Linked DNA regions of Homo sapiens: region 2 is linked to region 1. The links are contacts of gene promoters, found by promoter capture Hi-C in blood cells and fetal thymus (Javierre and others, 2016). All regions are on one chromosome and are shown on one strand. The core of a region is centred on a gene start or on the middle of the fragment in contact, and the rest is flanking DNA. Distances in the headings are between cores, read along the strand shown.

What was found. The method cuts DNA at HindIII sites, captures the fragments that hold promoters and counts their contacts. A CHiCAGO score of 5 or more calls a contact.
Region 2: the fragment with the promoter of PGRMC1 here is called in contact with the fragment with the promoter of ZBTB33 in region 1 in 2 of 17 cell types (activated CD4 T cells and non-activated CD4 T cells); the score reaches 7.8 in activated CD4 T cells.

Annotation. Positions count from the first base shown.
Region 1 is chrX:120,245,607-120,252,121 of GRCh38, forward strand. It overlaps ZBTB33 (zinc finger and BTB domain containing 33), which reads left to right and starts at 5,206. Exons shown (of 3, transcript NM_001184742.2): 1 at 5,206-5,371. It also overlaps a transcript of TMEM255A not described here. RefSeq lists an enhancer at 4,913-5,751. The HindIII fragment of the contact is 5,064 bases long and covers 838-5,901 here.
Region 2 is chrX:119,232,990-119,240,080 of GRCh38, forward strand. It overlaps PGRMC1 (progesterone receptor membrane component 1), which reads left to right and starts at 3,296. Exons shown (of 3, transcript NM_006667.5): 1 at 3,296-3,702. The coding sequence starts at 3,375. It also overlaps the pseudogene NUDT19P6. RefSeq lists silencers at 3,019-3,068, 3,099-3,358, 3,759-3,908. The HindIII fragment of the contact is 8,490 bases long and covers 1-4,277 here.

The sequences.
Region 1 (6,515 bases), core at 3,956-6,455:
GGACTGGCTCAAACAGATTCACATATTTTTTCGGAGTCTATTTGAATTAAAAGAAAAATCTGAGATGGGAAGAAAAGGGACAAAGTATTCAAAGTATTTCGTACACAACTGAAAGTGTTTATTTCAGTGTTGTCAGATTTATTAATAGCAAAAAGAAATATACAGTAGGCCACTTATCTTTGAATTTCAAATAAAGAATAATGTTTTAGTATAAGTATGTTCCATACAATAATACAGTAGAAAGTGACTACTTTCTATTAAAGATGAGGTGATAGCCACGGTTGTACTTCTTCCTCTCCTACTACTTCTAAAATTTGTTTCTTATATTCTTTTTTTGTTTGCTTGTTTTGTTTTGTTTTGAGATGGAGTCTCACTCTGTCACCCAGGCTGGAATGCAATGGCGCGATCTCAGCTCACTGCAACCTCCACCTCCTGGGTTCAAGTGATTCTCCTGCCTCAGCCTCCCAAGTAGCTGGGATTATAGGTGCCCGCCACCACACTCGGCTAATTTGTGTATTTTTAGTAGAGACGGGGTTTGGTCACGTTGGCCAGGCTGGTCTCGAATTCCTGACCTCAAGTGATCCTCCCACCTCGGCCTCCCAAAGTGCTGGGATTACAGGCATGAGCCACCGTGCCCGGCCTTGTTCCTTATATTCTAAGGCTTTTCGCTTGCTGTTTGAGAAAGGGAAGTGGGAGCAGCCCCTGATATCCACAAACTGACCTCGCACTCACAATTAGGCATGTTCTTCTCTTGTTGAACATAAACTCACAGAACACCAACCCAAGACAAGATCACTGGGAGCCTGATCAAGTGAGACAAAACAAGACCACTTCATAAGCTTGTCTAAGCACAGACAAAAACAAGCTCACTGTGACACCCAGAAAACACCAAACACCCCTTCTTGGCCAAGATAGGTCACTGCTACTTTGCCAGTTAATGTACAGCTTTATCCTCCCTCTAGTCTGCCCTCCCTATAAATAAGATTTATTGAAATGTGCAATCATACAATTGCCCCTGCTTTCTGATGTATCTGAGACGGAACTCCTGATTCCTAGACCTTCCCCCAAATTGTCCAAATCCTATAATAGGTTCATTCTAACAACTTCTTATTGAAACACATCATAGTTACCTATAGTGTGTGTTGTCCCTCCCTGGAGTAAGAGTAATAAACTCAATCTGTCAACTATGGGTATGTTTCTGGTAGTCTTTGGTTGAAGGGCAATGACACATTCCACTGCCTAAAATGTTCTTCCCCAGATATTTATATGGCCCTTTCCCTTAGTTCATTCCATTCTTTGGCCATACATCATCTTTTCAGAGAGGCTGTGCTTGACCACACAATTTACAATAACACCCTCATCATTCTCTATCCCTTTGCTCTATTTTTCTTCATAGCACTTACTACTTTCTGTTTTTGTATTATATATTTATATTATATATATACAAATGTTGATTGTATGTCTCTTCCATTATAATGTAAGTTCCATGAAGACCAATATCTCAACTTGATGATAATTATATCCACAGTGCCTACAACACTGCCTACAACACTGCCTGGCACAGAGTAAATACTAAATGATATATGTTTAATATGTATTGAAAAAATGAATGAAGTTTACAGTGTCGGGCTTTATAAGTTTCATTGTCACATAGTCATAATCAATCTGTTGTTTGGACTTAGTCTTCCACTTAAATAGATTGGCTTACTGCAAAATCTCCATTCTTAATTCTTTATTTGGACTCATTTCTTATTTGATTTGACTTCATATATTGCCAAGTAATTTTCACAAATGACTCATAGGTAGTATATTCCCTCAATTTTGTTCAAGTTTGGAATAAGCTGTCTGTTGCTTTTTTTGGTAGATTGTATTATTGTTAGCAATTATCGACGACTCCTTTTCCAGTAGGAGAGTTATATATCCCTATCCAATTGACTTTGGAAAGTTTTAAGAAAAAAGGGCAATAGGCAGTATTAGACAGGTCACTTAAAGAGAGATTTGTTGGGATTAAGCAGAAAAGGGGATAGTGGTGAGAAAGCAACATATATTTGGCACTTACTGGGTTCCAGACACTCATTCGTTCAGCATTAAGCAACCATCTCTATCTACAATTTGTTGGGCCAAGGGATGCTTCACAAATAAGTTAGTACTTGAGTTGGGTTTTTATGGAAAACCAGGCACTTGCCAGGAACTAACCAGACAACAGGTTAAGCGAGGTGTGGCTATGAAGGGAATGACTATTCCAAGCTCAGGGCTCCAGGCTCAGACTTGAAGGCAGTAAATTGCATGGCATATTCTGGAAACCGTGAGCAGTTTGACACTATGCATAGTTGATTCATTTAATCCTCAAAGTGACTCTGTGGGAAGGTATTATTATCCCTATTTTACAGATGAAGAATCAGGCATAAGATCAAAGAGCTAGGAAGTGGCAGTATCAGAATTCCAACCCACTCACATCTTCTGCTTAAGACTTTGTTTCTTCCACTCTACCTTACTAGGGTTTCTGCAGATCCCATGGAGTGACCTTACCAAATCTGTAACCATAAGCATAACATATAGGAAGTGCTCTAAGACTGAACGAGTGTCACTTTATCTTTTGTCATCAATTAATATATATTAAGCACCCACAAGATTGTTGGCATTTTAACACAGGAGAGGACAGTTACCGCCCTCATGGAATTCACAATCAAGGTCAAAAGGCAAGCAAACGCTGACAATACGGCTATAAAACCTAACTCATCCCATTTTCAGCCAATAAAACCTTTCTAGAATGTGAAACAATTGATACCTCCAAATCCATTTGATATAGGTTGTTCTCTGACCTCAGGTGATCCTCCCACCTCGGCCTCCCAAAGTGAGTTGTTGTTGTTTGAAATAGAGTTCAAACTACTGGGTTGTTTGAAGTAGGGTTAAGCCCTCCAGATTAAAAACAAAAGTAAAAGTGAAATGACTAGTTGAGAAACAGAAAATTAATTAAACTTTCCAGTGATCCTGTCCCAAAGACAATTATTAAGGCCACTCAGGCTTCTTGGTCTGTTCTGCTTTCCTACAAATAAAATTCCTTTCCTGACCATTGGACCCCCTTTCATTATAGGTAGCTTTTAAACTTGTTTAGTTTTTGCTTGGTTAGGGGGTGAGAGATACAGCAAGAAGGGAAGAGAAGGTTTACTGTGCTTTGAATGAACAGGTTTCATCATATGTTAGTTGGTACTCCAAACTTTTAAAATACTTTCAGGAAAGTGACAATGGCATGGCAATTCTGTTGCCAGCCTCAGTGATGTAAATGCTGGTACAAAATAAATTGCATTGTGCCTTCCAGTTTACTGAGAGCTGACCAACAAACATGATATCTAGAGTGGCATCTATTGCCACTGTGATCTGTATTTCAAAGATATGTCTCATTTTAGTTTTCATCAATTAAGCCACTGAAAGATAAATAGATCCTAAACTTTCAAGATATACTTTGTTCTAATTACTAAGATTTTTTTTTTTACTACTAAGTTTTGGGGAGGATAACTCAGAAAAATGGTTATTAAGTACTCAGTTGCCAGGAAAAATACTAATCTGCCTTAGTTTATTTTACAACAGCATACTTCTATTTGCCATGAAATATCTTTATAGTAAACAATGAAACTTTTCATAATGCTAAGTCCTAATCAAAAATCAATAATGCAATAATTCCCACATAGTTTGTTTTCCCACAATACAAAATCTTGGAGAAGAGCTTAAGGAATTGCATATTTCCATGTGAAATACAGCTATATTATACCACTTTGATGTTTTATTATACCATGTGGCTTTACTTTATTGAGGAGGATGAAGAATAGATTAGGGATAGGTAGATGAGATGATGACATCCATGTCTGATTTCCTGTCAGAGAAAATTAGATATAGTTACATCTGTTTTCAGTCTAATATCCTGATGGACATTTTCAGCAAGATTTTTTAGGAAAGAAGCACAGGAATTCCACTGCAAGGTATTAATAGGTACAAATTTAAGATTTTGGAAATGAATGCAGTATTATCCTATATATATCTTTTTAAAAAGATAATGAAGGTAGTGAATGGCCTTAATTATGGCAGAAAAAAAGTTACTATTTGGTTCCTTAGTTGAATACGATCAATAACCAGCCTAAAAGGGAAACATTTTGCTCTCCAAACACCCATCCTGTTGCTTCATTTATTATGGTACTCAGTTGGAAGGGTATTACCAGAGGATTTTAAAAAATTATGTAACTCACAATGTATTTTTTCGGTCATTAAACAATCACTGAACACATACTATGTGTCAGACACTAAAGCCCTCTGAAGATGAAATGTTATGGAAATAGTAATAATAAAAAATTAAAATAGTAACAATAAAAAATTAAAAATGCAAGTGTTAATATTATTAATCTTTCAAGATACAGGTCAAATGACAGCATTCAATTTGCTATTCTCTTCTCTCTGCTTCTACACCTTGTACAAATATTTTTGTCCATGTTTGTGTACCTACCTACTGAGCTCCCTAAAGAGGTAGAGACCTTTGGGTTATTCATTTTTGTATTCCCGAGAGCCTAACATAGGGTTTTTGCTACAGATCAAGCAGGGGGTCAGTAAATGCTAGTTGGAATGAGGGAATTAACATAGTACTGCACCATTTAGTATTCAATTAAGAAGATAGTTGTCCAAACACTAAATTTCTTTCTTAAAAGTAGTTACTGTAATGTAGTTGCTCTCTTGTTATCCCAGAACTTGAATTACCATAAGAAGTTGTGAATTTCTATTTGATTGTATGTATTTTGATTATATTTCAAGATGGTTTATCATCTAGCAAACAGTCTAATAGAGCAGATTCAAACTTGCAAAATAAATGAAACCTGTATAGTCTCTAAAAGTTTGTATGCCCTAGAAGTTCACATTGAATTTCGATGAAAACGACTCGCTTCCCTTCCATCCAATTGCTTGCGACTGTCTTACCCGATCTTTCCCTTTCCTTTTTTCCCACCCGTTAGCCCTCCGGAAAGAGCCGAACACACAAGAGCTTCCCAGTCTTCCTCCGCCCCCTTGCGGAAAGAACCGAAGGCAGAGCACGGCGCCGAAGTGGAGCCGCCTCAAGCTCGGGCCCTTCCGGACCACCCCGGCCTGCGCTCGGAAGAGGAGGGCGCCTTTGGCTTCAGCGCTTCGCCCCCGCGCTGTGCCCTCTGTCGGCGGCGTGGGGCAGCTGTAGCAGCGTTGGCGGCAGGAGGCGGCGGCCGCGTCGACGTCGACCCAGACTGGAGCGACGTTTAAAGAAGGGGCAGAATCGCTGGGGAGTGCGGCTTCTTCTTGTTGGGGGACTCCCAGCCTTCCGCGCGTCCGGAGGAGGAGAAGCGGCGGCGCCGGGAAGCAGGTGAGGACCCGGCCCCAATCAGGGAGGGGGCGAAGGAGCGCGCTTGCCTTCTCCGTCCCTGGGCCGCGCCTGCGTTTGCATTCGCCTCACTTGAACCAGGAAGCGGCAGAGTCGGAGGCTCAGCTCCTCCGGCTCTTTCTTTGTGTGGGCCGGGGAGCGAAGGAGGGGACGAGCCGCGAGGGCCGCGGCGCGGTCCCCTTCGCCGTTAGGGGCCGAGGGGCTGCCGGTGCCCTGGGTAGGCCCCGGGGCTTGGGGAATCCATCACAGAGACCCACTTGGCTTTTCCCTCGCCCCTCTCGCTGCTTTTTTGTGCCTCTTTTACTCCCCTAGCCCCTACTTTGATTTAGAGCTTTTCTGCCAGGCCCATCCTCCCCTTCCGTCCCCTTCCCGGGGCACAACAATGCCGCCTGCTTCGCTTCATCCCCCCCCCAACACCCCACCCTGCCGTTCGCCACCTTCTACTTTCCCTGGTACCCCATATTCCTCCCGCCCTCACTCTGCTGTTTGTACCTCCGTCTGTATTTGCAAGAAGCTTGCTTTGCACGTGAATTGGGGTTAAAAACCTCGGTTGCAGCTGGCAGGGTCCATATGGGGAAGAGGGAGGTGGAGGAAGGGAGATGAGGTTCAGCTGCCGCAGGGAGCCGCGTGTCGGTTTGTTTCACTCCCTCGCGGATGGCTTTTATCTCTTTCCACCGTCACCAGCTCCTCCGAACTGGCCCTCGGTCAAGGGTTTCACAGTGATGTGGAATGGCTTTTCCACAGTCGAATCGCATATCTTCGGAGTGGGTTCAGACCGACTTGTGCTGTCTCTGGGGCCACCCTGAGTGGGAGGAGGGGGACACATAAACGAAACGAAACCGAGTCCCAGTGTCACCTGGACACGTACATTTGACGCATTCCCATATTGGAAGAACCCGGGAGCAAATGACAAAAATTGCGTGCCGTTTTCAGAAAACCTGTCTTTCCACTTAATATCGACTTCTGTCGAAATGCCCGTATTTCGGAAGCCCTGGTTTTTGGCAAACTGTCCAAAGGTCACCCTTTCTGATGATGAATGCCTTTATGGTAACCTGGAATTCCTTGGTACTGTTAACATGCAACACCTTCTAATAATGTTTTAAATCTTGATTTTTAGACTTTTTGC
Region 2 (7,091 bases), core at 2,046-4,545, 1.0 Mb before region 1:
TGTGAAGCAGGACTTCCTTTAATCCATTATCCTCCAAGGGGACACAGAGGTGTAGCAGAAGAGACACTGGACTACGATAAATGAGAATTATTAATCCTCCCCATCCCTCCATGAAAACACTTTCCCCAGATTTAATAGCGGTTACCTTTGAGGAAAGAGAATCAAGAGTGAGGAGAGGGACTTCAGTTGTCTTCTATATCTTCCCATAGTTTGAATTTTCTAACTTTAGACAAATATTACTTTGAAAAAACATTCCAGCAGGGGTTATCTGGGTGGGGAGCTAATGGCTTGGTTTTTGTTTTGTTTTTTTACTCTGTGTCTCTCTTTATTGGAAAAAAATGATAAAACTTTTATTATATAAAATTTCCCCCAGTTTTATAAAACAAAATGTGTGTGTGTGTGTGTGTGTGTGTGTGTGTGTGTGTGTATGTTGCATGTCTGCAAGAATATAAGCCAAACTGCTAATGTATGGGCCTGATTTAAGTACTGTTTGGGGAACTTGGAGAGGGAGAAAGGAGTTTCATTTTTTACTTTATACACTCACGTATTGTTTAAGTTTGTTATAGTGAACATGTATTATCATTCTACATTTTTTTTCAGAAAATAAATAATAAACCATTTTCCCCCCTGAGGTTAAAAGTGACACATGCCCATTGTGGAAAATGTAGAAAGGTATAAGGAAGAAACTAACAATCACAACAGTTAACATTTTAGCATATTTCTTTCCACGCTTTGTTTTATGAATTTTTTGACATAGTTGAGTTCATACTGTATATAGTTTTGTATCCTGTTTTTCCCTCAAGATTAAAACACAAGCGTTTTGCCATGTCATGATTTTTGGTAAAAGAATTTACCAAAACAGTTTTAGTTAAAAGAAGGTAGATTTATTAGATAAAGTAGGAAAATATGTTGTCAGAGAGACAAAGGGCAGCCTGCAAGAGAGAAGCCAACTGCCAGGAGACAAAGGCTTGCTGGAAATTTTATAGGATGGCGTTTATGCTGTCTGTTGAAGAGGTCTTTGTGTAATATTGATAATGCCAAGGTCGCAATGAGCTAACTTACAGGTGTCTGGTGATAGCTGGGCATGGGAAGATTGTGAATTATTTGCGCAGGAAGGCTGCATCTTGGTCATGAAGAAAGGGAGATTTGTAGCTTATTTGCTTTTTCTTTTTGCTATTTCATGCTCCCACCAGCCTGATTCCCTTTCCCTAATTAGGACTCCAGAATGATGATATTTGAATGGCCTTTTAATGGTTTTGTCACAATTCAAGTGAATTAATTCGCCATTTTATTTGAAGTCGGACATTTAGGTTGTTTCCAGTTTTTCTGTATTAAAAATGAATCTCTGCTGAGCATCTTAGTAATGAAATATTTGTCTGCGTTTCTGTCTCCTTGGGATGGATTCCTGAAAATGGAATTACTAGGTCAAAGAGCAGATTTCTAGAAGTGGGATTAATGGATAGAAAATATTTTTATGGATAATAAAAGGTTATACCCAACAGCGTATGTGAGTCTCACCACTCTCTCGCCAATAGTGTGTTATCCTTTTTTTTTTCCCTTTTATCTTTCCTGTAGAAAAGTAGTAGGTGACAGCGGCATCTCCATGCTTTTCTTTTTGTTACTAATGAGACTGAACATTTTTCATATGCTTATTCACCACTGGCATGCTCTCTTTTGTGAACTACCTGTTCCTATTTTTTCCCATTTATTGACTAGAATCTTATACATTTTCTTATCAATCCAAATGATCTCTCAAATAAATATTAACCCTTTGTCATATTAGTTGCAAATGAAAATATTTTATAAGTTTATTAGCTTTCTAAATTTTCTTGGCCATACATGTTAAAAGAGATAGATTCTAACTATAGACAAGTGCCCTCAGTTTGAGCCTGTTTCTCCATGATTAAATTGAAGAGTTTTGACAAAAGATTTGGAGGGGCTGTTTCAGCTAATCCCAAATTTAGCTCTGAGAAAAATGCCTGGGCCCGATACAAAGATTGTTTGGCTCATTGCACTTTATAATGATTTAAGAAGATGTGGGGGGCAGGGATGGAAGCAGTTTTTGCCAGAAATTTTTAGAATTCTGAGGTAGGAAGCCAATCTTTACTCAAGTCTCTTGCGTGTTGGGAGGAGGAGTAAGTTATGTGCAAGCCAACAGAACACTTGGTGGAAAAGTACTGCTCTGGGCTGCAGATGTGTGCACGGCTTGGTTTTAATTATTTGTTTCCCTCTCTATCCTTTCTTCTCCTCCCCTCCCCCCGCCACCAGAAAAAGGGCCAGATTAGGACGAGGCAACCCCTTCCTCCGTGGAGGTCTGCTTCTGTGCAGCCTGTTAGCACATCAAAGGCCGGATGAAATACCTAGGAAAGGAAGGGACCAGGCCTAGGATCCTTCCAAACTCCCGCCTTTGTCTGGGCTCCAGCTCAGGGTTATTGTGACTGCCAAGGGTAGCCTGACAGACTCCAAATAGAAGAACGCTGCCAAACAAAGAAACTTTCACATTATTCTGAGGGGGGAAAAAAGAGCAACAAGAGAACGTTGCTTGTTAATGCCTGGTGACTGAGCAAATCAGTAATTGCAAAAGGGTTTTTCGGAGAACAAACCCAAAGTTAACTGGGCGATCAGATTCGTTTCCCCAGATAATAGGGAGAGTTGTGCACTGACTTTAGCAATCCCGGGGGTGTCGGTCCCACAGCATCTGGGGGAGAATTGGGGAAGGGCCATCAAGGAGAGCGAATGGGGGTTCCCAAGGTGAAAATGAGTCGTGTAGGGCTCTAACATAGAAAATGGAGTTCGAAGAATGAGTTTCCTGTCTCCTAAGACAGCTTGGAGGGCCCGGGAACGGCAGGGGGAAGATGAGGGGCTTCAGAATGGGAGGCAGGGAAAAGCCTGCAGCAACAGAAAGGGAGTCGGTGTCTGGCGCGCATCAGGTGGCGGAGGGGCGCTCGCACAGAGCCCGGCAATGCCGAGGCCCTCCCAACGGGTCGGTCTGCGAGGAGCAAAAAAGGGGTTCAGAGGAGGGCAGCGCGTGCGTCGCGCTCAGCTATAGGATGGCGCGAGGATGGCGTGAGGCTGGGCTGGGGCCTCCCAGGTAGAACTGAGGGGGGCACCGCGCGGCCGCGGGGGAGCGGCGCCGGACTCTAGAGGCTTTGGAGGGGGCCTGAGGGCTGCGGGGCGGGACCGAGCAGGGCGGGGCGCTTAGGTGGCCTCGGGGGAGGCGGGGCTTGGAGGCTCCGCCCCTCAGGCCCCGCCTCCTCCCCGGCTAGTCTTTGGCCGCCGCCGAACCCCGCGCGCCACTCGCTCGCTCAGAGGGAGGAGAAAGTGGCGAGTTCCGGATCCCTGCCTAGCGCGGCCCAACCTTTACTCCAGAGATCATGGCTGCCGAGGATGTGGTGGCGACTGGCGCCGACCCAAGCGATCTGGAGAGCGGCGGGCTGCTGCATGAGATTTTCACGTCGCCGCTCAACCTGCTGCTGCTTGGCCTCTGCATCTTCCTGCTCTACAAGATCGTGCGCGGGGACCAGCCGGCGGCCAGCGGCGACAGCGACGACGACGAGCCGCCCCCTCTGCCCCGCCTCAAGCGGCGCGACTTCACCCCCGCCGAGCTGCGGCGCTTCGACGGCGTCCAGGACCCGCGCATACTCATGGCCATCAACGGCAAGGTGTTCGATGTGACCAAAGGCCGCAAATTCTACGGGCCCGGTACGCGGCCGGCGAGGGGGGCTTGGAGACAAAAGAAGGGGGCCCCGGCACGGGGCTGGGCGGGAGAGAGGCGAGGCGGGAGCGGGGCGCCCCTGAGTGGAGGGAGGAATGGCGGCGAGCTAGGGTAGGCGGGTAGGCGGGCAGGCGGAGAGCCGGGAGGCTCCCGGGGCGGGCAGGGAACAAGAGGCGCTCTAGAGGGGCTGCGGGCCAGTCAGGGACGCGGATCCCCGGCCCGCGCTGACAGCGCTGGGAGGGGGTTAGAGAAAGAAGGCTGAGGCGCTTAAGCCGGGGGTGGGTGGGACCACGAAGCTCGAAGGCGTTGAGGGGGGACACATCAAAGCCCAGGCTGTTGGGGTAGTTTTCGAAGGTCCTGGGCTTGGGGATTCCTGGAAGGAGGAGGGGGTAGTGTCGGGTTCTAGGAAGGAAATGAGGGTGTTCCGAGGGAGGCATGGGGGAGGGCGAGAGTGAGAAAAGGTCCAGACCTAGAGAAGACGGGAAGGCCAATGACACCGGGAGTAGGTTTGAAATATGAGGGTGTGGGAGAAAACGCCGAGACGGGATTAGCAGCAGGTAAAAGCTTTGTGCCCGGTGGATAGTGATGTGTGTGTGCACTCGTGGTGTGTGCATGCGCGGTGTGTGCGTGTTTAGTGTATGTGATTTATCAGGGGTGTGTGTGTGTGGTGTGTGCATGCGCGCTTGAAATGGGTCATGCGTCAGGTATGTGTGTGGCATGTGTTTGGTCTGTGTGCGCTTGTGCTGTGTGTGGCAGATGGGGAAAGGCTGGAAGGTGAACAAGGAGGAAGGGGGCTGTTTGAGGGAGGAATAAAGGCTGAATATGGTGGACAATGGTAACGTGGCAAGCTTTTAAGGTAATATGGTATTTAGTCTATAGCAGGAGAGAAAGGATTAGAAGCCAAGAAAAATTAAAATGGAGGGAGGGAGAAGTGGGAGGATACCAAGAAACAAAAGGAGTAGAGCTAAGAAGACTGCTGGGTGGGGGGATATCAGGAAAAGCCAACCAGAGGGAAATGAAGAATGGATGACTGCTGCACTGCTGAGCTGTTGGAGAAGGCAGGCCTGATGGGTTCCTTAGAGGCGAGGTTTTTGCAAACCTGGTTGCGTATCAGAATCACCTGATGCATCTGAGGAAAAATACAGATTCCCAGTCTAACCGCCAGAGCTGCAAATGAGTCTCGGGTGGTCCGGGAGTCTGTATTTTAATATGCTTCCCAGGCGAATTTGAAAAGCAGCCAGGCTTGCAAAGTCCTGCTTTATAGAATACTTGGAGATGAGGAAGAAGAGGTTTTGGCTCCTCCAATATGGACTCCTCTAAACACAGGGAGCTTAGAGGATGTCCACATGGACGGTGCTCATTCCACACTGGCCTGAGAGAGGGAAGAGTACAGAAGGCAGTACACAAACTCAGGCATTCATTTTAGTCTCCCAGTCCAACTGATCAAAATCAGATGTGTTAAGGTTAAGGAGCTCAGTTTTTTCTTGCAGACATTTATTTATTATAAAAAATAAATTTTATTTATTTTTTAGAGACAGGGTCTCCCTCCTGTGTTGCCCAGGCTGGTCTCGAACTCCTGGGCGCAAGCAGTCCTTCCACCTCCATTTCCCAAAGTGCTGGGATTACAGGCATGAGCCACTGCACCGGGCCTGTGGATATTTTAGAATACCTGCTTTCTATAGGCATGTAACTGTCAAAATCATTTGAAAACCACATACATTATTTGTCACTTAGAGTAGCACACATAGTTGCTTTATCAATAAACATAATCATGTAAATACCTGTTAATATTGAGCTCAATATTAAAGGAGTGAAAACATGTGCATGAGGCATCATCATGACTGTAGTTTGCAGAGTCATTGAGAGGATGTCAGCCTGTGCACAGAGCACAAAACTGGGAGTCAGGCAACCTGCGTTCTAGTCCTGATTGGGTCATGACTAGCTGTGTGACCTTGTGCAAAGCATTGTTCTCTCAGAGCCTTAGTTTTCCCTCTGAAAAGTGATAAAGATGGCCTATTGTGAGATCTCTGTCTCTATCTTGCACTGTCATTCAGTGAGCCCATGACTACGTGACATCTTGGTAGAAAGTGATGCTTCATGTTGTAAAGGATTCCTAAAAATTAGTCATTCTAGTGCCTGTTAATTCTGTGCAAGGCACTGTTGTAGATGTGGGAATATAGCAGTGAGCAAAACAGACACAAATCTCTGCCTATGGAGCTTACGTTCTAGTGAATATATGTTGCACTGAATAATATGTATTTTTAAAAGACTTTTAATGTTCCCACTAGAGAACATTTAATTGTTTAAATGTTTAAATATTCTATGAGGTTTAAATATTCTATGTTTAAATATTCTATGAGGTTTGCTTGGTAAAGACTCACTCTACCAAGCCAATGACCATAATTTCTGAAATGGTAAGGTTCAAACCATTGCATTTGCCTATTCTCAAGCACTAGGTGCTGCCATTTCCACTAGGGGTGTACATTTATGAAAAATGTGGGCTTTTTTTTACCTTCTTTAGTGAATGTGGCAGCATGTAATGATGATTAAAAATAAGCATTTTTCTTTGGAATTTTACTTGCATTTAAAAGTTGTAAAATTTGTAAAAAATTTCTGAGTGTATTGAGGTTTCAGGTGAACAGGCCATATTGAAACTTGATCTATTCTCATACTTGGTTCCCTACAAACATTTTAATGTCAGGGCTGCTATTCAATCTGCCTTGGGGGAAACAACACATTGTTTAAAGTACACTGGATTCTCTTCATTTAGTTGTGCAATATTTAAATAAGTCTAAATATCCACTTTGTGTACCCACAGAATGATTCTCTGCTCTCTTAGACAAAAGTTCAGTATAATATCACAAATAATCACATTTTATAGAGTTGTTTTATAGAGTTGTTTTGCAGTATTGATTCAGCCTCTTTTCCATGAAAATTTTAGTATTTTCACAGTCTTCTCAAGCCCACCAAAAAACAGATAATGAAGACTGATCTCTGTGTTATCTATTTATTGACAGTGAAGGTTATGTAATGTGGATAGATTTTTAAACCACCGATACTGTTATAAAATGGTTCTTCTGCAGATGCCATGAGTTAATGTTTAATTGAGCCTTGGAACCAAAGATCTCTATAAGATACCTTTGTTTCATTAAAACATATCAGAATATATTCATAAGGAAATGTGTTTTCATGTACACATCAGTGCTTATTATCTTAAGAAACCATAACTCTCACTGGTGTAGCCCCAAGTGCCTAGAACTGTCAGGCTCCCAGTTCAATGTTCTTGTATGATTCCCTACTACCACTACCCCAAGAGATCACTAACCACGTATGACTTTTTTACTAGCTATTTGGAAACCACAGGAGACTGACGCAA